Linked DNA regions of Homo sapiens: regions 1 and 2 are each linked to region 3. Evidence: promoter capture Hi-C in human tissues and cell types (Jung and others, 2019). All regions are on one chromosome and are shown on one strand. Each heading gives the region's core, a stretch centred on a gene start or on the middle of the fragment in contact. The rest is flanking DNA. Distances are from core to core; before and after follow the strand shown.

Evidence for each region. The method cuts DNA at HindIII sites, captures the fragments that hold promoters and counts their contacts. A contact is called where the count stands out against the background at its distance.
Region 1: a contact is called between a fragment that was not itself captured here and the fragment with the promoter of DPYS in region 3, in 1 of the 25 tissues and cell types used here (H1 embryonic stem cells).
Region 2: a fragment that was not itself captured here is called in contact with the fragment with the promoter of DPYS in region 3 in 1 of the 25 tissues and cell types used here (hippocampus).

The regions. Positions count from the first base shown.
Region 1 is chr8:104,674,137-104,677,620 of GRCh38, forward strand. No RefSeq gene overlaps it. Among named protein-coding and RNA genes, the nearest start is that of LRP12, 87 kb to the left of the region's middle. The HindIII fragment of the contact is 4,163 bases long and covers 1-3,484 here.
Region 2 is chr8:104,284,650-104,287,945 of GRCh38, forward strand. No RefSeq gene overlaps it. Among named protein-coding and RNA genes, the nearest start is that of DCSTAMP, 54 kb to the right of the region's middle. The HindIII fragment of the contact is 4,105 bases long and covers 1-3,296 here.
Region 3 is chr8:104,465,280-104,468,688 of GRCh38, forward strand. It overlaps DPYS (dihydropyrimidinase), which reads right to left and starts at 1,776. Exons shown (of 10, transcript NM_001385.3): 1 at 1,378-1,776. The coding sequence starts at 1,641. It overlaps LOC105375691 (a long non-coding RNA gene), which reads left to right and starts at 491. Exons shown (of 3, transcript XR_928507.3): 1 at 491-708. The HindIII fragment of the contact is 4,558 bases long and covers 1-3,409 here.

The sequences.
Region 1 (3,484 bases), core at 424-2,923, 210 kb after region 3:
GGAAAGTCACTTAACCTGTCTGTTTCTCAGAGAATAATAATAGTACCTATCTGATAGGCACTACAAAATGAGAATAATAATAATACCTGGAAAACAAGAATAATAATAGTACCTATATGATAGGATTGTGAAAGGGTGTAAAATGGTAAGCTCTCAAAAATACTAGCTTTTATTACTATTTGTTAATTTCCTCTTTGGGCTCATATCATATCCTATCTTTTCCATTTTTTAGCTTGTGTCCTTACTGGCACTTGTGTCTTCCACATGTTTTCCATTTTGTATGTTTTTAATATGTTCATGTCAAGTCTCTATATCCCAAATATTGGCATTTTGTTTTATGTAGGACATGGTAATAATCATTAGTGGATGCAGAAGAAGCTCCAAATCCATTAATAACCAAGGCAACAGTATGATTCCATTCTTTTCCTTTGATTTTCTGCTACATATTGTTCAGAAATCCTTGATGTTGCCTACGAAGACTCCAAATCATCTATTATCATTGAATTTAGGGCTAAAATAAGTACATTTAATTGTAACCCAGTTAATAAAAAGTAAGTGCTGAGAAAAATTATTAAAAGCTTCTGTGTAATGATAATTGTATTCCTGAGCCTAACAATTGGGTTAGGATACAACAATTTTTGTATTGGTTAGAGCTATACCCTGCTTTGGTTTGACAGTCAGAGCCAAAGACACAGCAATCTTCCCTCAAATATTGGAAGGACTTTGTCCTCCTGAATGACTCTTTCAAATAATTTCTTTTATGACCAAACTTAGAAAGTAAATATCTATTCAGATGATGAAAAATACTAATGTTTGAAGAGCTATAAATATAAAATCATGAATGCCAACAAAACAAGGCATTGTACATATTATGAAATATAACTTAAGATTTTGGATCTCAATACTTGGAAACATTGAACTATGAACTATGTACTATTATTATCTTAGAAAGCTTTACTCCATTTTAGACGGACTATACCACTTCAAATGGGCTGTTGATGCAAAATGAGCAAAAAAAAGTGCATCAGTGGAACTTATTTTAGTGAAATATTAACTGGCCACATTTCAAAATTATATTCTATACTGTCCTGTGACCAAAGATGCTAAAGAACTTCCTATTTAAGAGTACCATGAAAGGGTATGGCTGGAGGGTGAAATAAGAAAAGACACAGAATGTATTGTATTTGTAGGAATTAAGAATAAAAATGTGCTTCAAACGGAATGTTGAATATCATCATAGCAACTACTTTTTTGATCAACAAGAATCATGAAAAACCAGAAGCTATGTCAGCTATGCTTTGGATAAAGTTACTGCTTTTTAAAAATCAAGTTAATGATTCACAACAGTAAAGACATAGAATCAACCTAGGTGCCCATCAACAGTGGACTGGATAAAGAAAATGTGGTACATATATACTATGGAATACTATGCAGTCATAAAAAAGAATGAAATCTTGTCCTTTGCAGCATGGATGCAGCTGGAGACCATTATCCTAAGCGAATTAACATGGGAACAGAAAACCAAATACCACATATTCTCAGTTATAAGTGGGATTTAAACACTGGGTATTCCTGGATATAAGGATGGCAACAGTAGATCCTGGGGACTACTAGAGTGGTAGGTAGGGAGGGTGACAAGGGTTGAAGAACTAACAATTGGGTACTATGCTCAGTAACTGGGTGATGTGATCATTTGTACCCCAAACCTCAACATCACACAATATACCTAGGTAACAAACGAGCACATGTACCCCCTGAATCTAAAATAAATATTGAAACAAAATCAAGTGAATAAATAAAAAATAAATAATAAAATTAATGTGATATAGGCATACTTCTATGATTCTCTATTGAACAGACCTTATTGAGAAAACAGTCAATCAAAAGTTGCCGATAAAGGTAAAGGATTGAACACACACATCTACAGTCTGCCCCTGAATTTCTAATTAATAACTGTAAAGGGATTTTTAAAGACTGTATGAGTTAGCTTTTCCTGCATAACAATATATGCCTGAAATAAAGTGGCTTTAAACAACAACCATTTATTTAGTTCAGATTCTGTGGATTTGCAATGTGAGCTGGGCTCAGATAAATGATTTTTTTGGTTTCAGTAGGGCTCCTTCATGTATTTGCAGTCAGCTGCAGGTCAAGTGCAGATTTGCTAATCTTGACTGAACTCCCATATCTCCCCAGCCTCATTTGGGACCTCTGAGTTGACTCAGGCTACCATCCAACACCAGGCCAGATCAAGCTTATCCATATGGAGAAGAAGGGGATCTTGAGAAAGTGAATGGAGTGTTTAGGGTCTCTTGAGATCTACCCTTTGATCAGATACATTGTCACTTCTACCTTATTCTGCTGGCTGAAGCAAGTCACAAGGCCTGTCCAGATTTAAGGGATGGAAAAATTGGCTTTGCCACTTTTTTAGTGGAGCTGCAAATTTACATTGCAAGGGGCATGAATATGAGGAGGAAATTACGGATATTTCTATATTTAATCTACCCGAATTGTATAAACCCACAAGGGCAAAGAGAACAGAGGAGAAAACAATAGAAATGAAATTTTGGAAGCTAGAAGGAAAATTAACGAGTAGCAATTGACTTTGAGACACTTGAGAAAGCTGAATCCTAAACTTGCAGTGGGGAGAGACAAGAAGCAATCCAGTGTACTAATGTAATCCATAGAATCTTCTAAAGTCTCAGAAATTGATATACCTGGTATACATGCCAGGTATTTATGGAAATGGGAAGATGAAGGTGGAGATAGAAACAGGAAGATTCATTGAAATTCTCTTTACGTAGTATTGCAGTTAGACATTCAGATTCTATCCCCCAGTCTGCCCAGTCATTAACTGCCATTGTCTCCCTATACTACCCCAGAGAAAACAGGAGGTTTAGTTTATGAAGTAGGTAAAAACAAGGGTTTCTGGACTTATTGACACCCTAAACACAATTGAGGATTGAGGTGTTGTGGTAGGGAAAATAATGGCTACCAAAGATGTCCACATCCTAATCCTCAGAACCTATGGATATGTTAGGTTACATGGCAAAGGGAAATTAAGGTTGCATGTGGAATTAAACTTGTGTCAGCTGACTTGAGATGAAAACTTAGCCTGTATTATCCTGGTGGGCCCAGTGTAATCACAAGGATCCTTATAGGAAGAGATGTGTGACAGGTCTACTGAATATTCTATCTTCCCTCTTAATATCACATTTTGTGTCATACCCATTTATCCCTGGGATCCCTAAGAAGCAAAAACTCAGTCTCATGGCATTTCTGCAGCTAGATAACCTATGAAGTTTACACTTCTTTTTTGGATTAACTTTCCTACTTTTTCCTTTAAAATTTTTTCACCAGAGGGAGCATCCTATTTGGAAAGAAGAAAAAAGACTCCTTCTCTGGCAGTGTATTTGACACTGATTCAAAGCAAAGCAAAACTTGCTTTTGGCAAATGCAAGAAAACCCAAACCTTAAAACTCTAAAA
Region 2 (3,296 bases), core at 307-2,806, 180 kb before region 3:
TTAGTTAATTCTCTCCTGGATCAGAAGAAAAGAACTGGAAAGGGAAAGGGAGTCTCTACAGAATGTAGATTTTTTCCCCATGAGAGAAAGCTTTGCAGGGCCATTTCAAAATATGTCAAATAAATATATTTTAGGGTAAAATGCTTCGATTTCATTCAGGGCCTGCTATTTGTCAAGTGATGCTATACTAAAGTCAGGCTGGGACTTGAAGCCTTATTGTTACAAGAAGTCTTAAGATGTCTGTTTTGATGTTAATGCTGGTCAGTTGTCCCTGAATTCCAAAGGGTGGAGGGCATAATGAGGCATGGCCAACACCCCTGACCCCGGCTTCCCATCCTGGCCTGAACTAGGTTTTCAGGTTAACTTTAGAATTCCCTTAGCTGAGAGGAGGGGTCCAATCAAAGGGCTGGAAGGCTTAGAATTTTATTTTTAGTTTACAAAAGCAATCATTTTGGCCATTATGGTCTGAATTAAATTGCCACTAGGAAAAACTATATATATTTTAAAGTTGGGATGATGCCATTGTGGTGGGATAATCTGGAAGAAGCTTAATTTGTGTTAACTTATTTCTATTTATTCTTAATATTTGCCTATATCCCCCCTGCTATAACATAGCTCCCTGAATACAGGAATACTTGTCTGTTTTGTTCCTGGATATTTCTCCAGCTCCTAGAAAGTGCCTGACCTGGAGAAGGTGCTCATGAAGCATCCAATGAATCAGTGTTTCTTCTACTTGTGGGACTGTCCTACCAGTCCCCTATTGACTCCAGTAGGGATGGCACCATGTCTGAGAGGCCAAAGAAGAGACCTGGAGACAGAAGGTTTATTAGCATGGAGGGGGTGGGAACTTACATACAGAGAAATCCAGCGGAGGCAGGCTGGACAGGAGAACTACTATTGTTTGTAAACAGCATGTTGTGTATAAAACATTTTCACTTAGCACCCTCTACCTGGCAACCTCCATTTAACCCAAAACAAAGGGCCTCAACTCCCTCTATGGCCTGTGTTCCAAAGAATGGGCAGAGGTTTCAGACGACCATCACAGATAAAGCAAATCTCTGGGTTGGCCACTGCCACTCTTAGATTCTGTGAAAGGAAAATCTTGGGGTCCCCAAATTACTAAACTAAAGGGAAAAGTCAAGCTGGGGACTGCTTAGGTCAAACCTCCCTCCCATTCTATTCAAAGTCATCCCTCTGCTCACTGAGCTAGAGGCAGATCTGACTGCCTCCTTCAAAAAGGCTTCAGAAATTCAATATGAAACTGTCAGGCCTCTGAGCCCAAGCCAAGCCATCGCATCCCCTGTGACTTGCACGTATACATCCAGATGGCCTGAAGTAACTGAAGATCCACAAAAGAAGTAAAAATAGCCTTAACAGATGACATTCCACCATTGTGATTTGTTCCTGCCCCACCCTAACTGATCAATGTACTTTGTAATCTCCCCCACCCTTAAGAAGGTTCTTTGTAATTCTCCCCACCCTTGACAATGTACTTTGTGAGATCCACCCTGCCCACAAAACATTGCTCTTAACTTCACTGCCTATCCCAAAACCTATAAGAACTAATGATAATCCACCACCCTTTGCTGACTCTCTTTTCGGACTCAGCCCGCCTGCACCCAGGTGAAATAAACAGCCATGTTGTTCACACAAAGCCTGTTTGGTGGTCTCTTCACACGGATGCACATGAAATTTGGTGCCGTGACTCGGATCGGGGGACCTCCCTTGGGAGATCAATACCCCGTCCTCCTGCTCTTTGCTCCGTGAGAAAGATCCACCTACGACCTCAGGTCCTAAGACCGACCAGCCCAAGAAACATCTCACCAATTTCAAATCCAGTAAGCGGCCTCTTTTTACTCTCTTCTCCAACTTCCCTCACTATCCCTCAACCTCTTTCTTCTTTCAATCTTGGCGCTACACTTCAATCTCTCCCTTCTCTTAATTTCAATTCCTTTAATTTTCTGGTAGAGACAAAAGAGACATGTTTTATCCGTGGACCCAAAACTCCAGCGCCTGTCATGGACTGGGAAGGCAGCCTTCCCTTTGTGTTTAATCATTGCAGGGATGCCTCTCTGATTATACACCCATGTTTCAAGGGTGTCAGACCACGCAGGGACACTTGCCTTGGTCCTTCACCCTTAGCGGCAAGTCCCGCTTTTCTTGGGAAGGGGCAAGTACCCCAATCCCTTCTCTCCTTGTCTCTACCCCTTCTCTGCTTCTCTGGGGAAGGGGCAAGTACCCCAACCCCTTCTCTCCTTGTCTCTACCCCTTCTCTGCTTTTCTGGGGAAGGGGCAAGTACCCCTCAACCCCCTTCTCCTTCACCCTTAGCGGCAAGTCCCGCTTTCCTAGAGGGCAAGAACCCCCCCAATCGCTTATTTCTGCACCCCAACCTCTTATCTCTGTGCTCCAATCCCTTATTTCCACACCCTGACCTTTTATCTCTGTGCCCCAATCCCTTATTTCCATGCCCCAACCCCTTCTCTGCTTTTCTGGAGGGCAAGAACCCCCCACCCCTTCTCCGTGTCTCTACTCTTTTCTCTGGGCTTGCCTCCTTCACTATGGGTAAGCTTCCACCTTCCATTCCTCCTTCTTCTCCCCTAGCCTGTGTTCTCAAAAACTTAAAACCTCTTCAACTCACACCTGACCTAAAACCTAAATGCCTTATTTTCTTCTGCAATGCCGCTTGACCCCAATACAAACTCAACAGTAGTTCCAAATAGCCAGAAAATGGCACTTTGAATTTTTCCATCCTGCAAGATCTAAATAATTCTTGTTGTAAAATAGGAAAACGGTCTGAGGTGCCTGACATCCAGGCATTCTTTTACACATCAGTCCCTTCCTAGTCTCTGTGCCCAGTGCAACTCATCCCAAATCTTTCTTCTTTCCCTCCTGCCTGTCCCCTCAGTCCCAACCCCAAGCGTCACTGAGTCTTTCTAATCTTCCTTTTCTACAGACCCATCTGACCTCTCCCCTCCTCGCCAGGCCGAGCTAGGTCCCAATTCTTCCTCAGCCTCCGCTCCTCCACCCTATAATCTTTTTATCACCTCCCCTCCTCACACCTGGTCCGGCTTGCAGTTTTGTTCCATGACTAGCCCTCCCCCACCTGCCCAGCAATTTAATCTTAAAAAGCCAAAGGCATAGTCAAGGTTAATGCTCCTTTTTCTTTATCCCAAATCAGATAGCGTTTAGGCTCTTTTTCATCAAATATAAAAATCCAGCTCAGTTCATGACTTGTTTGGCAGCAACCCTGAGATGCTTTACAGCCCTAGACCCTAAAAGGTCAAAAGGCCATCTT
Region 3 (3,409 bases), core at 526-3,025:
GGTAGTGGGGGGAGAAAGAAGGGAGGGAGTGATGGAGAGAAGGAGGGAGGGAGGAAGGAAGCCTACTATACACTGGACTTAATAGCCCAACTTGTTTCACACATCAAGGTATGGTCCAAGTGAAAAGCCAAGGCCTTTAGTATATCAATACATCTTCACTTTGGAAGGAGCCATTTCTCTCAAGGCAGCTCAAAACACAGGACTTAGGGAGGATGTGGGCTTTACTTTAGCCCAAGTGCTGAGAGTAGAATTTTTACTCTATGTTCCTGTAAAGCTGCTCTGTTAGTCTCTTGATCTTGTGTTGAGGAGCTTTGGGGAAATGTTGCAGGGGTGTCCAATCTTTGGCTTCTCTTGTCTTGGGCCACACATGAAATATACTAACACTAACGACAGCCAATGAACTAAGAAAAAAAATCTCATAATGTTTTAAGAAAGTTTATGAATTTGTGTTGGGCCGCATTCAAAGCTGTCCTGGGCTGCATGCGGCCTACAGGTTGGACAAGTTTGGTTTAAGTTTCCTTTCATTGACCCAAACTTCTAGGCCTTTGTATCTAGAGAAACCCAAGCCTACCTTCACCTGGGGAGTGGTGATCTGATTACCCTCCTGCAACATCAGTAAAACTATGGGTACTCCAGCAGCAAGAATGTTGTGTCCCCAGCGCAAGTGGGATGGAGAAAAGAGCCTGCTGCGAGGCTGCGTTGGTGTGTGTGAGTGTTGCGAGATCATTTCTGGAATACTTTCTCTTCTAAACCCTGGTCGGGGCTATATTTTTTCTACTGGGGGTGGGAGTGGGGGCAGAGGGTAGGGGACGGGAACGTGAACACGGTGGGCATCTAGCCTACTCAGACACATTACCTGCTACACTGCTCACTTTGAGTCAAGGCTGTAACTACCAGGTGAATGGATTTTTCATTTGGTTTTGGTTGGGGATAAAGGATGGGTCGAAATGGTTGGGAGAAATGGCTGGAAGTGCCTACTTTAAAAAAAGATTCTAAAGAATGTATGGAAGATTTGCGACTTCCACAGAACACCAATCAAAATGGGGTTGCGGGGAGATTTGGGGAGTAAGCGGTATAGAGAAATTAGGGTAAGGGGATGGCCTTAAACTCGTCAAATTAACCACTAAAGGAGGAGTCGAGGGCATCTGGTTGAGCCAAGGCTGCTCGGCTGCCGCCGAGAAGGGGCGCCTGAAAGGGACCCCAGCGAAGAGAATCTGAGTCCCCTCTGACACCCGCCGGGGCTGCGCTCCTTCCCGCCCACCCAGCTCCTCGGCGCCGCGCCGCGCGAGGCGGCCCTGCTGAGGACCCCGGGACGACTGGGGAGGCTGCCCGAGCCTCCGTGGGTACCGCGGGGCGGGGGCGCGGCGGGGCGGGTACCTTGGTGCCCTGGTGGAAGTCGTCGATGGACCGCGAGCCCATGAAGGGGAACTGCATGTGCGTGTGTGTGTCGATGCCTCCGGGCAGGACGAGCTTGCCGGCGGCGTCGAGGACCCGCAGCCCCGCAGGAGCGCCCCCGGGAGGCAGCAGGTCGTGCCCGAGTGCCCGCACCACGCCGTCCTCCACCAGCACGTCGGCCACCTCCGAGAAGTCATCGTTGACCACGCGACCCCCGCGGATCAGGAGCCGCGAGGGCGCCGCCATAGCGAGGGGCGCGCGGGGTCCTACTCGGCCCGGGCTGCGCGCAGGGGCTGGGTTGGGCGGGCCGGGCGGGCTTGGGGTGCCCTCCTGCAAGGTCCCCACCGACAGCCCCCGAGCTCTGCCTCAGGCTGCAAATCCGGAGCCCGGCGGCCTGACGGGTTTATGACCTGGCCGCATATGCGGCTCCTCCCCCCGGGAAGGCTGGGCTGGAGCCCAAAGGCCGGGATTGAACAGGTCCGCATGGTCCTTGCACACTCAGACCCCAAGTGTTCTGCGCCCTGAGTTGAGGTATCCACCCAGGCTTCGGAGTCATTGGAAGGGAAAGATCTTGGAATTTTAAGAGAAAGGAACCTGCGTTTTTCATCATAAGATTAGGTGCTAAAGGGAAAGAAATCCACCTCACCCTTTCCCTTGGTTGGGGGTGTGTTTGTACCAAAAGACAGATCCAGAGGGAGAAAGAAAGCAAGAACCATCACTAGAAGCAGCAACAAAAATACCCAAACCCACCCAAGCCAGAACAGAGCCACTCGATCTGGGTTTCCTGTTAAATGTTCTTAAGCGAGGAGCAAATTATCATATAATCCCAGTAATTGGCAGACACAGGGAAGGATCAGAGTAAAATATTTAATGTATTTGAAAGAAAACGACTTGGTGTCAACTATTCTCCACAGTTTAATGATACAACACATACCAGCAAGTGTTTCTTGGAAAATAACCGGTACTGTAACTCTAAAGATTTAAATTTCTACTCCCAGCTTTTCCACAAAACCAGTTTAGAGATCTTCAGTTAAATCTTTTATTCTCTTGGTTCCTCAGTTTTCTCATATATAAAATTGATTAATACTTGTTCTTGCCTTCCATATTTGCTTTGAGAAGCAAATATGATCATGGCTGTGAATACACCCTAATAAAGTGGGAAGCACCATGCAAATTCACTTAAATACTGGCTTTGTAAGGACTACAAAGCTTACCTGACTAGGGGGATTGGCTAGAGGGCTAAGTGGGAAAGATAAACCACATTTCCACCCTCAAGTAGCTAACAGCCAACAGTGACACACATTCATATTTCAATATATAAAACAGAACATTCTATCTTTGAGAAGGGATAAAGATAAGAATTTAGAGGAAAGAGTGAGTTTATTTCTGGCTTAAAGACATCAGATATGGAAGATTTGTGAAGAGGTATTTGAACTAGGATACAGAGAATGTGAACACGCAGAGGTGAGTGGTGGGAAGAGGACATAGTGCTCCAGGTAGAGTGAACAGAGCGTGTAAAGGCACAGAGAGGATGAAGGAATGCACTCCCTGTGGTTAAGCTATGAGGGATAGGCTTACACTGAATCCTGGACCATCCCTTTGCTTATAGGGGAGGAGGAGGAAGAAGAGACAGAGTGGTCAGAGAGAAGGGAGACCACAGGTCTGTGTGATGGAAGGCAGGAATGCAGAATTTTAAGAAGGGCAACAGGATGGAATCTTGCAAAAGGGTTATGAAGGGTCATGGGGAGGTGGGGTGGACATCTGCTGACCAGGCATATATTCTTGTCCTTATTCTGGTAACAGTCACTGGCATTTCTTTGGTGGGAAATCCTCTGCCTGAAGTCTCAGAACACTTGTTTTGGAGAAACTGATGGTGAGAGACAGGACTAGCTGGATTTCCTAGGCTGACTAAGAATTCCTAAGCCTAGCTGGGGAAGGTGACTACACCTACCTTTAAACATGGGGCTTGCATCTCAGCTCACACCCTACCAGTCAGGTAGTAAAGAGGGCTCAC